4 separate regions of the Homo sapiens genome follow, and regions 1, 3 and 4 are each linked to region 2. The links are contacts of gene promoters, found by promoter capture Hi-C in blood cells and fetal thymus (Javierre and others, 2016). All regions are on one chromosome and are shown on one strand. The core of a region is centred on a gene start or on the middle of the fragment in contact, and the rest is flanking DNA. Distances in the headings are between cores, read along the strand shown. Region 1 overlaps SLC39A11 (solute carrier family 39 member 11). Region 2 holds the start of VCF1 (VCP nuclear cofactor family member 1). Region 3 has its middle 4.3 kb from the start of RPL38. Region 4 overlaps LINC00511 (long intergenic non-protein coding RNA 511).

Region 1 (2,871 bases), core at 291-2,790, 520 kb before region 2:
TTAGAGACCAGCCTGGGCAACATAGGAAGACCCCCATTGCTACAAAAAATGTTTCTTTAAGTAGCTGGGTGTAGGGGTCCACACCTGTAATCCCAGCTACTTTGGAGGCTGAAGTGAGAGGATCATATGAGCCCAGGAGTTGGCAGTTGCAGTGAGCTATGAGCATGCCACTGTACTCTACCCTGGATGACAGAGCAAGACAGAAAGAGACCCCGAATGACAGATGTCTCAAAAACAACAAAGAAAATAAGTTTTGCTATATTGATTACAACTGACACAATGTGGACCTGTCCCAAGTGAGAATATGTATACATGTATAGGCAGGGAGACACTGGTGGTACTGCAGGGCAGACAGGAAAGCAAATAAAGATCACTTAAGGAGGAGAAATATTGAAGAACTCCTGTGTCATCAAGCAACTATGAACACATCATCATCTCCACATTTACGAGTTGCACAAAGTCCCGATCATTCCCTCTGGCACCCCTACATCCACATGGGTACACATCCTTGTTCTGTTATATTAAGTCAGGGTTCATCTTGTTTCCACCAAAGAGAAAACGGTTAGGAAGGCAAAGCGTACGGCATGGAATAATAATTGCCAAGCAAAAGCCAAAGTTCAGCCTTGAAGCCTCTTTTTATCCATTCTTCTCAAGCATGGCAAAAATATCCTCAAAGGACAACCAGTTTAAACGATAAGGGTTTTATCAGTAAGAGGCAAGTCAATAGAATTTAAAGATAAACACATAATCAATTCTAATTTCTGCAGAACAATAACTACACTATAATAATTTTGTACCAGACATGGTAGTCAATCTGCTTGCCAAGTCCATTGTACAGAACCAGACTGCTCCACTCCAGTTCCGAGGTTCTCCTGGACTCTGGACATTGGCCACTTGCCCTGTATCCTGCTTGAGCAGCCCCAGCAATTCTCATGTGTGATGGTTAATTTTATGTGTCAACTTGACTGGGCCAGGAGGTGCCCAGATATTTGGTCACACATTCTGGGTGTTTTTGTGAGGGCTTTTGGATGAGATAAGCATTTTAATTGGTACAGTAGGCCAGACTGCCCTCCTGAATCTAAGTGGGCCTCATCCAAGTAAGTTGAAGGCTTGAATAGAACAAAAAGACTGATCCACCACCAAGTAGGAAAAGGAAAAATACTCTCCAGCAGACTGCCTTTGAACTAGAACCACACCATCAACTCTCCTGGGTCTTGAATCTGCCAGCCCACTGTGTGAATTTGGACTTGCTGGCTCCCATAATCACATGAGCAAATTCTTCGTAACAAATCTCTTTCTATATATACACATCCTATTGGTTCTGTCTCTCCAGAGAACCTTGACTGGTACATCATGTCATTCTTGCCTACAGCCTGTTACCTCATCTCCTAATATCGGGGATGGTCTCAGGGACCCCCAAGTTCAGGAAGACCCATGGCCACAGCATTGCTTCTCCATTCTTCTACAATCTCTCTGCCCTTTCCAAGGAGAGTTCACTCAGCAGTTCCATTCAGTCTCCTTGAAGATATTCTTCCCAACCCATGACTGAGCATCAAGATTGACTTGTTTTGAGAAGCTGTAGCTAGCTCAATGATAAGCCTTGGATTTGCTTTCTTGCCTTCCTGTGTTGTTCACTTCCTTTTCACTTTTGCTTCTGCGGCAGCACACTGCTCACAACTCATAACGCATGAACTTTGCCTTTGGCTCTGTTTTCTGAGAAACCTAGGCAAAGCCTTTTTTCTTTTCTTTTTTTTTTTTTGAGACGGAGTCTCGCGCTGTTGCCCAGGCTGGAGTGCAGTGACGCGATCTCGGCTCACTACAAGCTCTGCCTCCCAGGTTCATGCCATTCTCCTGCCTCAGCCTCCTGAGCAGCTGGGACTACAGGCGCCTGCCACCACACCCAGCTAATTTTTGTTGTATTTTTTAGTAGAGACAGGGTTTCACCATCTTAGCCAGGATCGTCTCAATCTTCTGACCTCGTGATCCATCTACCTCGGCCTCCCAAAGTGCTGGGATTACAGGCGTGAGCCACCGCGCCCGGCCAAGCCTTTTTCTTTTTAAACTCACTTGCCTGATGAGGAAATAGCTGAGTGCTTTTTTATTGTGGAGACAGGGTCTCATTATGTTGCTCAGGCTCCAGTGATCCTCCCACCTCAGCCTCCCAAAGTGCTGGGAATACAAGTGCATGTCCCCATGCCTGGCTTGAGCTCTTTCTTGATAGGTGTGCTCACCAATTGGCCCAGGTGTGGACACCTGCCTCAAGAGATCTGATGTATAGGCTGCTCTTTCACCTATTGCTTGAGGGTTTCTCCTTGAACAGAGATGAGCTGAGCCAAATATCTTCCTTCTCACTTAATTAAAACTTGATAAAGAAAAAGGTATTCAATGGACAATGGCTGTTGGGCAAAGAAATGATGAAGGAAGTTTGTGTGTGTGCACGTAAGTGTATGAGAGAGACAGGGAGAGAGAGAGAACTTTCCAGGTTCAATTTCAGTTCATGAAGCTGAAGATTTTCTTGCCCCTATTTCCTGTATCCTTTCAGTGAATGTCCCTTTTCACTTCTAATTGCTGATCAACCTGAACTTAACTCTTTTATAAGTAACCTGCTTTTCCTATCTGGATGGTTTTGTGATATTTTATGTATCTGCAACTCAAAAGTTTTCCCAGGATATGTCACATTGCAATTTTCTTTTCATTAAATTCAACTAAAATGTGGTTGATTTCTTTTGAGCTGCATCCTCAGATTATTTTCCCCTCAGGTTCCAGAGGTTTTATTTTCAATTATAATTTTGATTGTTGCTCCTGTTCAAATTGATCTGGTTGCTCTTTGAGGAACATGCAGAAGTCTCTGGGTCATCTGTTCTGCCAACC
Region 2 (2,700 bases), core at 1-2,500:
GCAGCTTGGGGAACCCTAGGTTTTCACTATGGGACCAAATAAACTCAGAATACTTTTGAGAACTTCAATCACATGAAATAATTATTTCAGAGAAGGATCCTTGTGGAAAGACCGTAACAGGAAGAGCATTCTGAGGTAACCTTTCCCAACTTTCTCCTCCACACATTCTTGCAGAGGAAATTAAGAGAGAGAAAAAAATTAAGAAATCCCAACTTAGTCCGGACTCTAGTAGTACATGTCAAGCACAGAACCCCTAATTTAAGACCCGCGTCCCGAGGCCAGGCTCCCTCGGGAAGGTAGCGAGTGCATCGCGATAAAATCTTTCCTCCCGCCTTCGGAGTCAAACGGCCCCGCAATCCAAACAGTTTAGAATCCAGCTTGTTCTTAATGCCACAGTCAAGAGAAGATCCATAACCCGCCTTGGTCATCTGCCCTTCTGTGTTCACAACCGTTCAGGGCACAAGTTCTTCGGTCTAACCGAATCTTTCCCTGCTGCGGGGTTAAGCCCAACCTTTCTTTCTGACCTTGGGGAGCCGGCAGCTCCCCGCCCGGTGCCCTCACAAAAGCCTTTGGGGGCTCCCTCTCCAAGATGAGACGTTTATCCCATCCCCCCACCCTCCTAAATTTAGGACAGGAAAGCTTTAGGGCCACCGTCTCTCTTCCGGGACCGATCACACTTCGTTCCAAATAGGAAAAGACAGGGGGGAAAAAAGATGGAGGGGCGGGAGACCTGGACCCCGGAGAGTCACCTTCCAGCTACCCACAGGAACCAAGCATCCGATCACTCGCGCATCCCTCTCCCCTCCTCCCCCGGCCCGCAGTGCACCCCACAGGGAGCCCCGCCGGGTCCACTCTTGCTCCGACCCCCATTTCGCGCGCCCCCTCGGCTCTATCTCCCAGATCCTCAGGCGACGAATGGAAAGGGGGTCCCTTCCCTCTCACCTGGGACGGAGGCGCTCGCTCATGGCAGCTGGCGGATGGAAGCTACGCGGCGCCGCTCCGCGAAGAGAGGGAACAGAGGGGGTTGTGTTTCGGCGGCCGCCACGCCCACCCCCTCGGGCCTTGGCTCTCGCAGCCGCTCGGGTGGACGCAGCCGGTGGCGAGTACCCCTCAGTCGGACCCGTACCACCACTACTTCCGGCGTCTGCTCCGCGCCCCCCCATGTCGCTGCCGCCGTGGTACCGCCCTCTCGCGGCTGCGCAGTGGCACCATCCCAACCGCACCGACTGGTAACCCCGCCCACGGGAAGAGGCGGGCTCGGAGCGGGAGGAGCGACTAGGAGCTTCTGGGAGAAAGGACCTCCCCTGGGGTGGCAGAAGCGCTCGCCTGTTCACAGCCAACGGAGGGTACGGTATAAAAGTCAAGCCAGGTTTCAAATAAATTCAATTATGTCATAATAATATCATACAAGTATTTGAGTTGAATCCGTGTAACATATTTTAAAACAGGCGGACCTATCCGGCAGTGGTGCAGACGGCCTGACGAGGTTCCTTGGCCGGGGGTTGGGCAGGGGCCTGGGGGGCTTCCCTGGGGGGCTTGTCGCCGGGGCCGCCTGGGCTTTCAGGTCTTCCGAGGTGAGGACGGTGCTCTGTGGGGAGCTTGCAAGGGCGGGTTTGTTTTCCGCGGCCCACGTTCTAAGTCTGGGGGAGACTCTCCTGAGCGGAGAGGGTAGGGAATCGGGTGCCGGGGCCGGCGGAGGGTCTTCCTGGAACCGCAGGAGGAAATCCTCGGTGGGGCTGCGGGAACGGCTGTCCCTGACCCAGGAGCTGCCGGGCCGACCCCATCCACTCCGCAGAATCAGAACAGCTGGCAGAATCAGAACAGCTTTCAGGGAAAGGAAGGGTGCGGGGAGGTGGGCAGGCTGGTAACGCAGCGGGAGGAGGGAAAGGCGGCTGGAGAGCGCCGGAGGTGAGGGTGAGGATTAGTGGAACTATTGAGGTCCTCCTTGAGCCCGGAGGCTGGGGAGGTCTTAACTCTCTGCTTTCCGGAACCTGTGTTTCTATTTGGTTCAGTATCGTGCCGCGTTTACTCACTGTGCATGCTGCCAAGTCACCTGTCTGATCGTGTCCTACACAGGCTGACATTCACGTTTCATTCTGCCACACTCGGGAACGGTGATCGGGGAAGCATGGGGATCCGGGAGAAGCACCCACAAAACTAGCATCCTCCTGGAGGAGCTCGGGTAAGAAAACAGACACCCACGTATAGACGTTATCGTGGGAATGTACCGGGATCTTTCAAGTAGGGTTGAGTGTGAGGTGGAGTGGAGGCAGAAACGTCTAGCAGGTGTCAAGCCCTTCCTAACGTTGTTAGCCGAAGGTCCATGGACTGGCTTCATTTGTGTGTATTATTGTAAACAAACAGTCTGTGGCTTTCATCCTGTTAGTGTGTACCTCCAAAGAAAGAAAGAATGATGGCTCACGCCTGTAATCCCAGCAGGCTGGGCGCGGTGGCTCACGCCTGTAGTCCCAGCACTTTGGGAGGCCGAGGCGGGTGGATCACCTGAGGTCAGGAGTTCAAGACCAGCCTGGCCAACATGGTGAAACCCCGTCTCTACTAAAAATACTAAAATTAGCTGGGCGTGGTGGCGCACGCCCTTAATCCCAGTAATCCCAGCCACGCGGGAGGCTGAGGCAGGAGAACCGTTTGAACCTGGGAGGCTGAGGTTGCTGTGAGCCGAGATCGCGCCACTGCACTCCA
Region 3 (2,700 bases), core at 1-2,500, 970 kb after region 2:
GACCACCTAGATTGATACCACTCAATCTGATGCTTCTTTCATTCTTGTCACCCTGGAACTTATTTGCTATGAGGGTTTGCACATACTAGCAGGCTCCTCTGGAGGTGTTGGGTTTTCAGGACAAAGCAATATTCTACTCCTCTTTGTGAATCACCATCGATGTTACTCCTGGAGGACTTTCCTGGCCTGTATCACCCCTTCCCCAGCCTGTATCAGACCCCCATGGCCTCCATCTGGTCCCACAATTCCAAACACTTCCTACACCTAGGGCCCAACCTCATCACTGCCTCCCTTACTATTCTGTGTGTCCCTTGAGATGGGAACAGGGACAGGATCTTATTTGTGCATCTTCACCACTTAGGTACCTAGAGGCACCTTAAAGACGTGCCCCATGCCTCTCCTCCCTTCTCCCACCCCAGCTCCCCACCCCATCCCGAGGCTTCCCACTGGAAAAGGTGTCCCCACCCGCTCTGGGCTGACATCAGCTGCCTTGCCTCCCAGAGTAGGGACGAGGCTCCTGGTAACTAGAGCCGACTGCACCCCGCCTTGCCACCCGTTGAGCCCGGGCAGAGGCAGCACCCAGGGCTGTCCTCCTTACAGCATCCACAGAAAAGCTTTGAAACCCTAGGCTAGGTGCAAATAAGACAGTAGCCTGAGCCCATGAGTTACCTGGCCATAGGCACAGAACAGAGATATCCATTATGAAAAAGAATGTCCTCGTGGTTTTGGCCTTCTAGTCAAGCGGCTCTCAACCACAAGTGGCATTGCCCTGCTTTCCCCCGGGGACATTTGGCAATGTCTAGAGACATTTTCGTTTCTCACAATTGTGAGGGTCTAGCATTAACCAAGTAGGGGCCTGGGATCCTCACAAGGCTCAGAAGAGCCTCAGCCCCTAAACAAAAAGTGAAAGTGACCCCATCCACAAAGGTCAACCATGTGGGGCGTGAGAACCCCTGTTCCAGTCTGCCTGGCCTTTCTTCGTGGCTTCTAGCTCAGCAGCAGGGAGAATGTTAAACCTGTCTACCTCTCAGGGGCTCACAGACTCTTTGGGGGCCAGGGGGAGAGTGAGTAACCAGTATCCCTTTAAACTCACCATCTTCAGTTTCTAAAAAAACACCAGTGGGCCGGGTACAGTGGCGCAAGCCTGTAATCCCAGTACTTTGGGAGGCCAAGGCAGGAGGATCGTTTGAGGCCAGGAGTTAGAGTCCAGCCTGGGCAACACAGGGGACCCCATTTCTAAAAAAAAGAGGAAAGAAAGAAAGAGAGAGAGAGAGAAAGAAAGAAAGAAAGAAGGAAAGAAAGGAAGAAAGGAAGAAAGAAAGAATATAAGACCACATGCTTGTGGTCCCAGCTACTTGGGAGGCTGAGGCAGGAGGACCACTTGAGCCCGAGAGGTCGAGGCTGCAGCGAGCAGCGATTGCACCTCTGCACTCCAGCCTAGGCAAGAGAGCAAGGCTCTGTCTCAAAAAAATAAATAAATAAAGCACCAACTCACCCCGCCACCCGACTCCCCATCCTTTCCCAGGTAAATGAGTTCAGTGCCAGGGACCAGAGTCCCGGCCTGCTGACAACCTTTAAGGTTTAATAAACAACTCCCTTCCGAGATGGTTTAAAGGCCAGCCCTGCCGGCAGCCAAAGGCAGGGGCCTCTTGGAGATTAAATGAGATGGTGGATATGAAAGCACTCCACCAGGTATGAAATCGCATACAAATATTCCCGATAATTTATGGACATTTCTCTCCGCCTGAGCTCCCAGGAGTCGCGCGGAAGGGGCTATTCCGTTTCCAGCCGCGGCCTCAGCGCCCCCGTGCGGCCGCCAGTGGACACAGCACCCAGGGCGGGCCTTGCCTGAGAGGTGCGGGTTGGAGCTTTGCGAATCACCCCATAGAAGCTTCGCTGCAACCCTGCGAGGCGGGAGAGAGGCGACAGCACACACACTCCCACCCCCAAAACATACACACACGTGCACGCACACACACACAGAAACCAGGAAACTAAGGCTCGGAAGATCACCGCTGGGCAGTGAAGGAGGTGCTATGGACCCCAGGGATGGGCCCTTGGGTGACGATGACCACAGCGGGCATAAGTGAGGCTGGAAGGGGAACTCCTGAAGGCCCTGAACTCCAGCCCAACTCCCCCTCCAGCCTCTTCTCCCCGACCCCCTGCCCCAGACCCTCCTTACCTCTGCCACACTGAACTTCCCACTCATTCTCAGAAACACCCCGCATTCTCCTGACCCTGGGCTGACGTCAGCTCCCTCCCTCCTTCTGTCTGGAAGTCCTTCTCCGGGCAAGCTGCTGCGCACCCCTCTCGGAGGCAGCAGACTGTGTCCCCTCCTCCACGAAGCCTTCCAGGACTCCCTCAGGAGGAATTAGACCCCTAGCCTCTGGGCATCCTCCACAGCTTATTATGGGATCCCAACAGTCATGAGTGTTTGGAGCAGGAACCGCATTCTGCTTATTCCCAAGCCCAGCCCGATGTTCACCAAGTGAACGGAATGGATTGAATGGGGGAAAATCCTGGAGGTTGGGAAGTCTTCCCAGCCATGTGCCGTGCCAGCCCTCTGCCCACCTGCGAGCTGGGGCATTGGGGTTTTTTTGACCCATCCTGGTCCTCTTTCCAATGTGTCCCTGAAAACTGAAGAGAGAACTCTAAACCATTTGGCCTTCAGAGGTGGCCAGAGTGGGGCTGCTGGAGGGA
Region 4 (2,808 bases), core at 281-2,780, 630 kb before region 2:
TTCGCCACCCTTTATTGACTTTTCTCCCTCCCAATTCTCTCTCTTTGTTCTTCCAAAGATAAACTCACAAATCCAGTTACACACAAACGTTTCTCTGCCTCGAGAAGAATCCAAAATAAGATACCAATCACAAATCATTTTTTTTTCCTGCTGGATTCTTTGCTGAGGCCTGTGATTTTTCTAAGTCTCCCAGACATCAGGGTTCCAAGCTTAGACACATTCTGTATTCTTTTGCTCCATCCCCTTCACCCTTCTGAGTGTTTGTGACTCATGGCTTTCAAATGTCTAATATTTCCATTATTCCATTCTTCCCAGCCTGGTGCAGGTCCTACAACCTCACACTGTGATGACCCCACCACCACCACCGTTGCTCACACCATCCCATCTGCCAGAAATGCTTTTCGGACTTTGCTGGGCTTGTCCTTGCAGAGTGCCTCTTGTGTGCCCTGCCTTGTGCCAGGCAGGTACTTCAGACTCCTGGGATGACCTTCCTTCCCAACCCACCCCCGCGATGGCTGTCTTCTCAGAACTTCCCTTACATTATCATGTACTCCATTCATCTGACATTGAGATATACTGTCTTTCACCAGTGGTTGTTAAGATGTGTACATTTCTGGCTCCTCCCATTAATTTTAAGTGTTCTGGGATCAAGGAGTATATCACATATGCTTTCTTGCTTGCTTTTTTTTTTGTTTTTAATCCTTTTAACAGGGGCTCAGTCAACATTGGCTGGTTTAATTTGACTGATAATGTTAAATTGCCAACAAAGCAAATGCAGGTAAATAGTGCTCTTGAATGTGGACAAACGGATTCCTTCCCCAAACTGTGCTGAATCAATTTCCAGACGGCTCACCCACAAAGTCCTAACCAAAAGCTTGGTATTACAGCAAGCCGCCCAAGCCGGTGGAATTAATTAGCCTGCACCTACGTGCCAACATCATTCTACCAGTCAATACTCTTGATGGTCTGTGATATAAAAAGGATAGTGTCTGTCCTAGAGGTGCTATGAAGAATGTGAATTGGTAGCTTTCTGTCTCTAGATTGAACAGTGGTGACCATTCATTCATTTGTTCAACAAACATCTATTTAGCATCTGGTAAGCTCCAGGTACTGTGCTAGGCACTGGGGATATAATATCAAAGGTGAGAGTCAAAGTCTCTTTTTTGTGGGGAGATGGAATAAATAAGTAAACAACTAAATTAAATTATTGCGGAGTGTGGTAAGAACAAGGGAAGACATAAACCTATGCTATATTAGAGGGAAAAGAGGCTTCTTGAAGAAGGGGTAACTTATGAAACTGATCAAAACTAGATCATCCGACACTGGTACATACACATCCATCACACCCATATAAGTGACGGAGAGGCAGGTGATGTTAAAGGAAAATCTGGCCAGACGTGGTGGCTCACGCCTGTAATCCCAGCACTTTGGGAGGCGAAGGTGGGCAGATCGCTTGAGCCCAGGCATTTGAGGCCAAGCTGGGTAACATGGCGAAACCCCGTGTCTACCAAAAAAATATAAAAATTAGCTGGGCATGGTGGCATGTGCCTGTAGTCCCAGCTACTTGGGAGGCTGAGGTGGGAGGATTGCTTGGGCCCAGGAGGTCAAGGCTGCAGTGAGCCGTGATTGTGCCACTGCACTCCAGCCTGGATGACAAAGATAGACCCTGTATCAAAAAAAGAAAAAAAGAAAAGGAAAATCCACAGTTTGTGCCTTGGAATAACTGGAATTCAAAGCTAGTTCAGCAAATGGCAGTGTCAGCAAAGGGTCTAGTCAAGTTGACTTTGGCTTTAAAAGCAGACAGAGAAGTTTGGTGAAAGGGTGATGTGGAGGTGACTGAGTCAAAGGCTGGAGTGTGGCAAAGAAGTGCATTCCAGGGGTATGATGGAGAGAAAAGCAAAGCTACCGTCTCTTCTACAAGAGGACAGTCAGAACAAACACAACACAGTCTCACATCCAGGGGAAACGTGAATGAAATGGCTTCAGAAAGACCCAGACACCCAGAAGTGCCAGCACCAGGTGACAGAGGGAGGGGACCCATCCAGAACACACCTTCTCCCTGTGGCAGAACTAGCGAAACCAAATAGGGCAACACAGAAAGGCGACCTGGTGTGTGTGGGTTCAGAGCACAACTTCCCCAAGCCTCCTCCAGGGGGTTAACTGGAAGTCCTACCCAGATTTTGCAAGAAGCTTTGTCATGCAAATATTCTCCAAGACATCAGTTCAGGCACTCACCTCAAATGCCCTCCCTTCTCCCTCGGTCATTTCTTCCTTTCCAGTGAGCAGGTCACAAGGGCAGGCGCAGGAGATGTGATTGAGCTGTGCTGGGAAATGCCTCGGCCCCACCCCACTCCTACTACCCCCTGTGAGGAGGAGGCACAGGCGGGCACTGCCCTCGGAACACTAAAGCTTTGTTTCCTGGAGGTTCTGAAATCAGCCTCCTCACGTACCTCACCCAACACCAAACGTTCTGTCTCCACTTCCTCCTCCACCAAGGACTTTGGGGGGCTTGAAGGAGAATGAGGGAGAGCGGCAGAAAGGATGGCTAGCTAGTAAAGCCCCACATGCCTGCTCAGGCCTGTTCAAGCCCAGTGAGGTATATGTGGGTTCAGAACTGATTACACTTCCCCATCTTACAGATGAGAAAATGGGCTTAGAGAAACTGAAGAATTCGACCCGGGTCACATGGTGGGTAGATGCTGAACAGGCTTTGAACTCTGGTAATTCCAAGGGCACAAGCTGTGTATTTTTTCCTGTAACATCACCTGTCTCCTTGCCAGCTGGGCTGGAGAGATGGCTCTCTGTTGA

Evidence for each region. Contacts are between HindIII fragments. The CHiCAGO score rates a contact against its expected background, and 5 or more counts as called.
Region 1: a fragment that was not itself captured here is called in contact with the fragment with the promoter of VCF1 in region 2 in 6 of 17 cell types (fetal thymus, non-activated CD4 T cells, total CD4 T cells and 3 more); the score reaches 10.2 in fetal thymus.
Region 3: a fragment that was not itself captured here is called in contact with the fragment with the promoter of VCF1 in region 2 in 4 of 17 cell types (total B cells, activated CD4 T cells, endothelial precursors and 1 more); the score reaches 8.9 in total B cells.
Region 4: a contact is called between a fragment that was not itself captured here and the fragment with the promoter of VCF1 in region 2, in 3 of 17 cell types (M2 macrophages, M1 macrophages and fetal thymus). The highest score is 6.1, in M2 macrophages.

The regions. Positions count from the first base shown.
Region 1 is chr17:72,707,195-72,710,065 of GRCh38, forward strand. The region is part of intron 7 of SLC39A11 (solute carrier family 39 member 11); the gene reads right to left. Among named protein-coding and RNA genes, the nearest start is that of LINC00511, 68 kb to the left of the region's middle. The HindIII fragment of the contact is 4,413 bases long and covers 1-2,871 here.
Region 2 is chr17:73,231,144-73,233,843 of GRCh38, forward strand. VCF1 (VCP nuclear cofactor family member 1) reads right to left here and starts at 1,251. Exons shown (of 4, transcript NM_001098832.2): 1 at 943-1,251. The coding sequence starts at 1,163. It overlaps MTNAP1 (mitochondrial nucleoid associated protein 1), which reads left to right and starts at 1,290. Exons shown (of 6, transcript NM_001351264.2): 1 at 1,290-1,346; 2 at 2,077-2,182. RefSeq lists an enhancer at 1-744. The HindIII fragment of the contact is 5,222 bases long and covers 638-2,700 here.
Region 3 is chr17:74,197,991-74,200,690 of GRCh38, forward strand. No RefSeq gene overlaps it. Among named protein-coding and RNA genes, the nearest start is that of RPL38, 4.3 kb to the right of the region's middle. RefSeq lists a silencer at 1,920-1,969. The HindIII fragment of the contact is 1,277 bases long and covers 613-1,889 here.
Region 4 is chr17:72,600,868-72,603,675 of GRCh38, forward strand. It overlaps LINC00511 (long intergenic non-protein coding RNA 511), which reads right to left. Exons shown (of 5, transcript NR_033876.1): 4 at 2,236-2,808. Among named protein-coding and RNA genes, the nearest start is that of LINC00673, 9.5 kb to the left of the region's middle. RefSeq lists an enhancer at 1,970-2,808. The HindIII fragment of the contact is 1,316 bases long and covers 873-2,188 here.